2 separate regions of the Homo sapiens genome follow, and region 1 is linked to region 2. The links are contacts of gene promoters, found by promoter capture Hi-C in blood cells and fetal thymus (Javierre and others, 2016). All regions are on one chromosome and are shown on one strand. The core of a region is centred on a gene start or on the middle of the fragment in contact, and the rest is flanking DNA. Distances in the headings are between cores, read along the strand shown. Region 1 has its middle 17 kb from the start of SDC1. Region 2 holds the start of WDR35 (WD repeat domain 35).

Region 1 (4,460 bases), core at 1,595-4,094, 250 kb after region 2:
TTAAATTCTTTGATAAGATTTTTGTGAATCTTCATGCAGAAATCTCCACTGTGGTCCTGGAGTAAGGAAGTACCACTGAGGATGTGTAACCTGGTAATTGCCTTTGGGTTTGGTGCAAATTCTCACTAGTTTCAGATAGTCCCAGATCTTTTCCAATAGGTCATCAAAATTCCAGTGGTGATGGGCAGAGATGGGTACACCGTGAGGCACCTTATAGTGCTATCCAATTCCTCAATGGAGATTTGGTCAATCTTATTTAACATAAGATAACATTTGGTCAATCTTATTTAACATAACATTTGGTCAATCTTATTTAACATAGATACAGGGGATATAAACTCTGTTTCCTTCCACCACATCAATGAGGTCATCAGCTGTAGCATCACTACGTAGAGTCACATCGGCATTATGAATCTTGTATTCAGCCAGAATGCTCTTCACAGTTTCAGCATCCAGCTCACTCTGTGGGCAAGTGGCTGTGAGATGAATGCCTCCCTTGTCCTTCTTCTTAAAGCCATTGTTGGGGGGCGGTGGTTGCTGTTCAAGTGAATGCCAAAGACTTCCAGCTCATTTTCAATTATCTTCTTATGTCCCAAAGGTTTCAGGACATCCAGAACAATCAGGATCAAGTTACAGGTTCGGGCCACTGCAATGATCGACGACCTCTACCTTTCCCATCCCTGGCACCTTCAATAATACCTGGGAGATCCAGGAGCTGGATTTTGGCACCTTTGTATCTGATGACACCAGGCACAGTGCTCAGAGTAGTGAATTCATAGGCTGCCACCTCAGAATATACCCCTGCCAGGTTACTAAGCAGTGTCGACTTCCCCACAAATGGAAAACCAACAAATCCAATTCAAGCATCACCTGTCTCGGCCACATCAAAACCTTCTTCTGCACCTCCACCACCACCACCACCCTTTGGAGTAGTGAGTTCTCGACGAAGCTTAGCAAGACGAGCCTTAAGCAGCCCCAGGTGGTGTGCTGTGGCCTTGTTGAGTCCAAGCCATCTCCTCTTCTGTCTCCGCGATCTTAGCTAGGGTGCTGCTCATCGTGGCGAGTACCCTGTGGCCTCCACACTGACTGTCTCCCTTCACACACCCGCGGGCAAACTAGCTCAAGTATAATGCTTTTCAAAAGTAACTCAATGAACTTGGGAGTGTAGGCCTCGGTACAGTGGCCCACAGACCCCTGAGAGCACCATTGTGTGACAGCTCTTCACCGAGAGACACCGCCTTTAAAAACGCGTTTAGGGCCGGGCGTGGTGGCTCATGCCTGTAATCCCAGCACTTTGGGAGGCTGAGGCGGGCAGATCACGAGGCCAGGAGTTTGGGACCAGCCTGACCAACATGGTGAAACCCCGTCTCTACTAAAAATACAAAAATTAGCCAGGCATGGTGGCGTGCGGGTGTAATCCCAGCTACTCGGGAGGGTGAAGCAGGAGAATCGCTTGAACCCTGGAGGCGGAGGTTGCAGTGAGCCGAGATTGCGCCACTGTACTCCAGCCTGGGCAACAGAGCGAGACTCCATCTCAAAAACAACAACAACAACAAACAAAAAACAAAACAGAAAAACGCGCTTACTTCCTACTGGCTTTACAGTGGTGAGCATTACCTAAGCACCTAACTTCAGGCTTTGGGGTAAAGAGAGAGAAACACACAGTCTGGCCTTCCAACAACTCACAGTGTGGGTGGAGAAACGTAAGAAAACAAGCCATTGCAATAATTTGCCATCACCGCCATCATGACCTTGTGCCTGGAGGAGCTGTCCCTGGAATCTGTCTAGGGAAGCTCCAGGGCTGGCTCCAGGAGACGAGGAGGAACTGGCTGGCCAGAGACAGGGGCAGTAGGGTTGTCAGATTTAGCAAATAAAAACAGAATGCCCAGTTAAATTTGAATTTCAGATGAACATTTTTTTTTAGTATAAAATGTATAATTATGTCCTATGCAATGTTTGGGATTTATTTATACGAAAAAATTTAGTCGCCCCACCTGTGGCTTTAGGGCCGACTTGTTCAGGAAGGGAAGAGGAAGAGCACAAGAAGGTTTGGTGCAAGAAGATGGGTTCGGTTCCGGACATGTTTGGCGAAACGGGGCCAGTGGCCACGTGACTGGAGATGTGCGATTCCAGGCTGCAGGATGTCAGGGCTCGGGCTTTAGGGGCGAGGCCTGGGGTCCGCGGTGGTAGGATGTTATGGGAAGTGCCCTGTGATGAGGCTGCAGGCGGTCGTACATGGCAGTTGAGTGGGATGGGTAGAGTTCTTTCCTTGTTCGAGAAGGCAGGGTGTGTCTGAGCAATCCTGTTTAGAAAGATCAACTCCAAGTAATTTAGACGAAGAAACTTCTGGAGCTGGACGGATCCCCCAGGGTGCGCCGCGCCTGGACTGGGAAGGGCCCCCGGACCCGCGGCGCAGGGGAGGGCCGGGCCGCCAGGGGGCGCTCTCGGCGGACGGGGCGGGGGTCCCCCTTGGTGTCTCCCAGGCAGCTTCGCAACAGCCCTGCTGGATTAGGCCCCAATGAGCAAACTGAAGCCCGGGTGGGGAAAGGGCGGGGGGGGGGGGGCTTGAGGGCGTCACCCAGGCGGGTCAGTTGCTTTTTTAAAAAAAATTATTTTTATTTTTTTTATAGGGAAGGCAGGGGCATCTCGCCATGTTTCCCAGGCTGGCCTCGAACTCCTGGACTCAAGCGAGCCTCCGCCTCGGCCTTCCAAAGTGCTGGGATCACCACCGCGCACAGCCACTTTTGCAGCTTTCTAAGGCCGCCCCCAGGCCCTTGCCACCCTGCTGCGTGAGCCAGGCTTGGGCCTGTGGGGAGGGCTCTAGGTCACCTGGTGGCTGCCGTTGTGTCTACAGCTGCCTCTTCCTGTGACAAAGCTGACTCTTTGTCTTCCAGGTCCCTTCTCTAGTTTTCTACCCTACTGTAGAAGAGGGTGGGTAATGGAATATAGATGAAGCTGTCACCCTTCCAAACTCTGGGGGGTGACCCCCTCCCTCCTCTGCTCACAGGTGCCTTCCAAGCCCAGACTCCAGTGCTCAAACCAGAACTGACTTTTGAAGGAGCAGGGCAGAAGAGGACTCCCAGACACCCCTCCTCTTCTCCAGGGCGAGCCCATACACGTGCTTTTGTCCTCATCCCTGCCATAGGAAGGGGCCCACCAGGTGTGACCCGGCTTTCCAAGGCTTCTGGCCATAAAAGGCCAGGGGTGGGAATAAAGCAAGAAAGAGATGAGACTCCGCCCATGTCTCGGGGAGCCCCTCAGCTCTGTAACTGGCACTGCTACCTCCCCTGCCTCCAGTCCCTCTCTACTGCTGCTCTGCCAGCCTGTGCTGGGTCCTCCACACCACCGCACTTGTCACTCACCTGCTCAAGAATCTGTGATGACCCCTATTGTTAACTGAAGCATTGCTTGTATCAAGAATCTCATTCTGTTTCTCCCTCCACTGGGGTGTGCACCTCTTGAGGGCTGTATCCTCAGCATCAAGAATACTTGACACAGGCCGGGCACGGTGGCTCATGCCTGTAATCTCAGCACTTTGGGAGGCCAAGGTGGGCGGATCACTTGAGGTCAGGAGTTCAAGACCAGCCTGGCCAACATGGTGAAACCCCGTCTCTACTAAAAATACAAAAATTAGGCTTAGGTGGGCATGGTGGGCCACGCCTATAATCCCAGCTACTTGGGAGGCTGAGGCAGCAGAATCGCTTGAACCTGGGAGGTGGAGGTTGCAGTGAGCCGAGATTGTGCCACTGCACTCTGCACTCTAGCCTGGGTGACAGAGCAAGACTCTATCTCAAAACAAACAAAAAATGAAACCTGACGCAAAGTAGTTGCTCAATAAATAAGACTATGAAAATGCACTGGCTGCTGCACCCACCTTGCTCTCAATCCCCCAAAGCCATCCCCTCATCCTCTTCATTTTACCTTTCCCTTCCAAGCCCAAGGCACTGATTAGTTTTGAAATCTTGATTCCTGTCTAGATTTAAAGGCTTTGAGTTAGGAATTACTTTTTTTCCCTCCCGCCTAGGACCTCATGCCTTCTCAAAAAATAGGTAAGACCAGCCAGACACAGTGGCTCATGCCTGTGATCTCAGCACTCTGGGATGCTGAGGCAGGAGGATCACTTGAGTCCAGGAGTTTGAGACCAATTCAGGCAACATGACAAGACTCTTGTCTTTACCAAGAAATTTAAAAATGAGCTGGGCACGGTGGTGCATACCTATTGTCCCAGCTACTCAGGAGGCTGAGGTGGGAAGATCGCTTGAGCCTGGGAGGTTGAGGCTGCAGTGAGCTGTGATCATGCCAGCGCACTACAGCCTGGACGACAGAGTGAGACCCTGTCTCAAAAAACAAAACAATACAAAAGATAAGACTGAATGTTCTCCATATGGTCCTATTTGGTCATGGAATGATTTGTGGTGGATTTTCCTCCACTCTTCAGCATTCCTTCCATAACCTGTTTC
Region 2 (5,052 bases), core at 160-2,659:
TCAAGCAGCAAAGACAAGAGACCTACTAATAGAAATGTAAAACGTATCCCATTTTCTGTTCTTGGACACTAGGTGAATAACCATTAATGCATCTGATAAGCAGAAAGGATGACACAGACCTGTAAACAATCTGCCAGATTTTCTTAGTGAAATGTTGACTCACAGGATTTCTTTTAGACTCCTAATAATATAGTACAATAATTAGACATAGCATAACACAGTGACTTATTTTCATTCTTCATTATTTTTCATTTTCCATTAATAACTCAGCAAAAACCATCCGATGTTTACATTCAACATTCTCTGAACTTTATTGCAAATATACTCCAGAAAAACACCATAAAATGTTTTGGTAGTTTTCCCTTTAAAATAATCAGAACTGCATATTGACAGATAACATGAGTAGACCGCACTGAACAAATAACATTAGCCAATTTACTACCAAACATGTGGGCTTGCATTCATTTACCTGTCTGCGTCTCTAATTTCAAAACTTTCAGTAATCCATCTTCACCACCGCATGCTATGAACCCTTGTTCCTTGTTCCAGGATACACACTGCAGCTTCACGTTATTGGGAATGGAAATCTGAAAAAGCAACCACAGCCGCACTAGCAACTTTTCACGAAGGAGCTGGGAAGTAAGTCTGCAGGAGATGAAAGCTGAAGAAAATCTTCCAAGAAGAAAAACGAACGGCCTTGCAGAAAAAAAATGAGCTGTTGTGAAAATGGGCATGGTCCCCTGAACTGACCCGGGCTCTAGCATTTGGGAAAGAGGGAAAGAAGTGCACAAAAGAGAAGGATAGTGACTGCGGAGGAAGCCAACGCCAGAGTCTCACCGGATGGATTTTTTAAAGGGAGGACGGGGAGAGGGTATAAATCCATACCACCAGTCCCTCTTCCTTTTTACCTACAACTTAGGCTATCCTATTGTTATTTCTTTTCTCTTGCCCAATGGCTCGTGGTGATCCAAAGAGTTTAAATCACGTGGATCAGCAACAAGTGGAGGAGGAAACATAGGGTAGCACGTGGCGACTTATCCTCAAGCCACCCAAAAGGACCTAGCCAGGGGCAGGAATGGGAGAGTGCTGCGAGAGGGCAGCAAGCTCGGCCAAAGACTGAGGCTCTGGGAACCGCAGGAAGAGGTCGGAGGCTGGACCCGGCGGGAAGGATGGCTGCGGAATGGCGAAGCCACGACCAGGACCGGGTGAAGGAGCCTGGCTTCTCGGGAAGGCAGCGGGAATCGCCGCAGGCTGCGGGAATGGCGGAGAAACGAGGACGCCCCCCAGGAAACTCACTTTCTTGCTCAGGTAGAAGAACATCGTGGGATCCCCGAGAGGGTCACGGCGGCCGCTAAGGCCCTCGACAAGTAACGGTTCTACGTCTCCAATCGGGAGTACCAGCAGCTCCGGAAAGCTCCCGTCGCCCTGGCAACCGCTGTTGCCCGGTCGCATCCGGGGCGCCGCGGGACACTTCCGGTGACGCCCTCGCACCGGGCACCGGCGTAGTGCGCCTGCGCGGACGTCGATGGGTTTGTGGGCGCAGGGCGCGAGGCGCGAGGCGGTAGCTGGGCTAGTCCTGTTCCCTGGCGTCTGGGCCTTTCTGCTCTCCGCAAGGAGCTGGGTCGCGACCTGTCACTGCCAGCCGTGCGCTCGCCCTCTGCGCCCCGTCTCGTGGTCACTGCCGCCCTCCCTCCCGCCACACCTGTGATGATCGCTATGGAGCCGCGCCTCAGGTGGCATTACTATAAACCTAAGAGGAGAGGCGCCCGTTCGAATAAGGGCAAATTATTTAGTATTTTGTAAGTTCCAAAGTTCCAACATTCTTGAAAGGGAAAAGCCATTTACTGTATTTGATAGGCTGGCGCCACTGGCCAGATGAAAGTGCAAATGTGCGTACTGAGATCTTACAACCCTTCTCTGTGTCTTTGGGGATTGGAGAACCTCTAGAGCAATTTAGGAATAGAAGATTTTGTTTATTCCGCTTGTTTTGATATTTTTTAACAGTTTAATTATTACCGCAACCCCGAGGGTCCTTTTAAAGGAATTTCTGTAAACGTTGGGTAATTACAGCGTACAATTGCTATTGGGGCATGGCCTCCCATTTTACAAATATTTGAGCGTTTGGTGTTTTCTCGTCTAGAGTCGACTGTTACATATTCTCTTCTTTTTCTTACCTTCTTTCTTCATTCTCCTTTGTCCTTTTGGAATGCTTGAGAGTTACAAAGCCTCAAAGTCTAAGGCATAGGGCAGAAATCCAAGTAGAACCACTCATGAAATTATTTGGTCTCACCTATGTTTTTATTTCTGGTTTTCCCTTTTACCATAATCTAGCATGTAATTTATGCATCAGTAGTTAATTTCCCCACTTGGAGTCTTTTCCCATCTCAGACAAAAATAAAATAAAAATCCTCCAATCCTTTGACCTGGGTGATTTGTCTCACCCAGCACAATCTATTATAGAATTGACAATAGTCCCTAGTGCCTTTCCTAGCAAATCTAAACTCCATCCAAAATCAGATCTTCCCTCAATCCTAAATGTTTTTACTAGGGAGCCCCCACCTCAAGTAAGCCAATATGCTTTCTGCAGGGCAACATTCCATCCGGCTCTGCTTCCCAAGCCACTTTATATATGGTCCTACCCTCTTAACAGGCCAGTTGTGCCTAGCCAAACCAGCACAAATCAGTCTCCATGAGGAATTCTTTCCAAACTTAACCCAATCCCATTCAGATAATGTTTGCTTTCCATTGTTTGTGTGTCTGTTTAAGATACATTGGCCCCTGTCCATAGGCTCCCTATACTGGACGCATGAGACAAATTAGTATTATCTAACCCAGGAGTTTCCAATAAACTGGTCAAGACATAATTAGTTGAAGCTAGTTACTGATGGTGACACCTGAAAACTCACCTCTCTTTATCTTTCCCTTCTTGCACATGAACTCTCATTTATTCCTTCTATACCACCATTTCTCTGTGGTATATTAATATGTATTACTGATTTTGGGCTCAAAAAAGTCTGGAAAATACTACTGTAGCTCTATGTCATACCCTTTCAAAATTTTTGAAAAGTAAGAGATGCTTTATATATTTCCTTGGTATATTTAGTTTTTGTTCCTTCCTTAAAGTTTATATTTTATATTTACATCTGTAGGATATATTTGCTTCTCAGGAGCTTATATTAATGTAAAGCTCATCATTATTTTATCCAAATTTAGATAATTTTATATTGAAGCCTTTCTTTTGAACCTGAACTTACACTTTTAGCCTCAGGAGTGTGAGATTAAACTATAGGAGGAGAATCAAACTTCTGTCTTTTGATAAGAAACTGTTGAATATCAAAATAACTGTTAATTCAGTATAATTTAAAGAAATATCTTTAATAGACAAAATTGATGAGTCATCAAAAATAGACATGATAATATGTAAAGGTAATAACTTTTATTATATTAAAGACAATGCAAACGAAAAACAGAATTGAGCAGTGCAAAATTTAAAGGACTGTTTTGTTCTCAAAGTTGCAAGTTTCAAAGCCAAAAGAATTATATGTATCAAATATATAAGTAAAAAAAAGTTAGACTTTCAAGCCTGTAATCCCAGCACTTTGGGAGGCTGAGGCAGGTGGATCACTAACATTAAAAAGACAACATTAGATTTTGTCGATTTATAGCAATTTTATAAATATATAACTTTGTCACTTGGATCCTGAAGCAAAATAATAAAGTGAATTTGGGATTTTTGTACTTGGTAAAAAGTTTAACACCCTAAATTCACAACTAGTGCTCTTTAGTAGTACATTTCTTTCAAAGACCAGAATGAATTAAAAATGGCAATGTAATGTTCACTTGATCTGTGTTAACTATTTTTAGATATGTGTATTACAATCTATTGATCACATCTTCAATAATACTCCAACAAAATAAGCAAAAAACAAAAAGTGTTAAACAGTTCAAAATTACATTCATCTCAGTTATATGAAGTTGTATGTGTAAATACCTTGTACAATTTGCACTCTCAGTAATAAGATTGATTTATATTATAAATACTATCAAAAGAAACTAGACCTAAAGTTTCCATTGTGAATATGGTTATCTAATATAAACATTTAAAAATTAAATGGCTCAATTAGTAGATAAAGAAACACTAAACTTTTCATTCTATTTCCTACCAATCATTTCACAGTCATAACTTAGAGACACTAAAGTTTGCTCTTAATAAGTATCTGCATATGTATTTCCTTGGAAGAATCATGCTGATTCTGCAGAAGATCTTCATACAATTTATCCAGTAATATTCAAGCATTAATACAGATAATGGCAAATTATTAGCAGGAACATTGGCAATAACAGGTGTGCAAAAGAATGCATGAGTATTAAGTACACCAAGCTGTCCACATTTTCAGGTGAGAAATTGGAGCAATTTAACGATGTATTTGTCCATATTCATTTATTTTCAACTTCTCCAAAATGTCATCAAGTGGCAAGTTGTTAAGGCCAACACCATTTATTTTTACACATTAGAAAATATAAACACACTTTCAAACACTTCACAAGATAAAATAATTATGTCCTATGAGAAGTGAAAAAAAAGAGCAAAACTGTTTTCTCACCAAAAGTTGAATTCAGTCTAAAAGTCAAAAATCCTGTTCTTCAGAGAGCACAATAAAAGTAGACCCCTGCAGTGGTCTTCAGATGTTTTTGTTCATATAAAATGTAATTGGAGTAGCATCTTAGTGTGAGGGATGGGGGAAGCAGTGTTTATGAAGTATTGATTAAAGGGATAGTTGGATTGTCCCTTTGTTTGGCTATCTCAAGATTCTGCTGTTCTAACAAATGCACCTTAGTAGATCTAGGGTAAATGAGAAGTATGCCTTTCTTGTGTGAAGTTAGGAGAATGGTGATATGGAAATGAGAGACGGGAAAAGAAAATGCCAGCTGATTCCAAGTAGTGTCTTAAGCAAGTGAAGGATTTGGAAATTGATTCTTTCCAATTATCTGTACCTCCCTTAAAAGTCTCTACATACGCCTAGATTGTACCTACCACAATCTAAATTCCAC

Evidence for each region. Contacts are between HindIII fragments. The CHiCAGO score rates a contact against its expected background, and 5 or more counts as called.
Region 1: a contact is called between a fragment that was not itself captured here and the fragment with the promoter of WDR35 in region 2, in 1 of 17 cell types (fetal thymus). The highest score is 5.0, in fetal thymus.

The regions. Positions count from the first base shown.
Region 1 is chr2:20,239,992-20,244,451 of GRCh38, forward strand. It overlaps the pseudogene DRG1P1. Among named protein-coding and RNA genes, the nearest start is that of SDC1, 17 kb to the left of the region's middle. RefSeq lists silencers at 1,144-1,290, 2,325-2,554. The HindIII fragment of the contact is 3,794 bases long and covers 948-4,460 here.
Region 2 is chr2:19,988,696-19,993,747 of GRCh38, forward strand. It overlaps WDR35 (WD repeat domain 35), which reads right to left and starts at 1,410. Exons shown (of 27, transcript NM_020779.4): 1 at 1,297-1,410; 2 at 470-587. The coding sequence starts at 1,320. It overlaps WDR35-DT (WDR35 divergent transcript), which reads left to right and starts at 1,509. Exons shown (of 3, transcript NR_110235.1): 1 at 1,509-1,799. MATN3 (matrilin 3) reads right to left here. Exons shown (of 8, transcript NM_002381.5): 8 at 3,357-4,471. The coding sequence ends at 4,416. RefSeq lists enhancers at 1,141-1,190, 1,207-1,710, 1,341-1,390 and a silencer at 1,551-1,630. The HindIII fragment of the contact is 12,234 bases long and covers 1-5,052 here.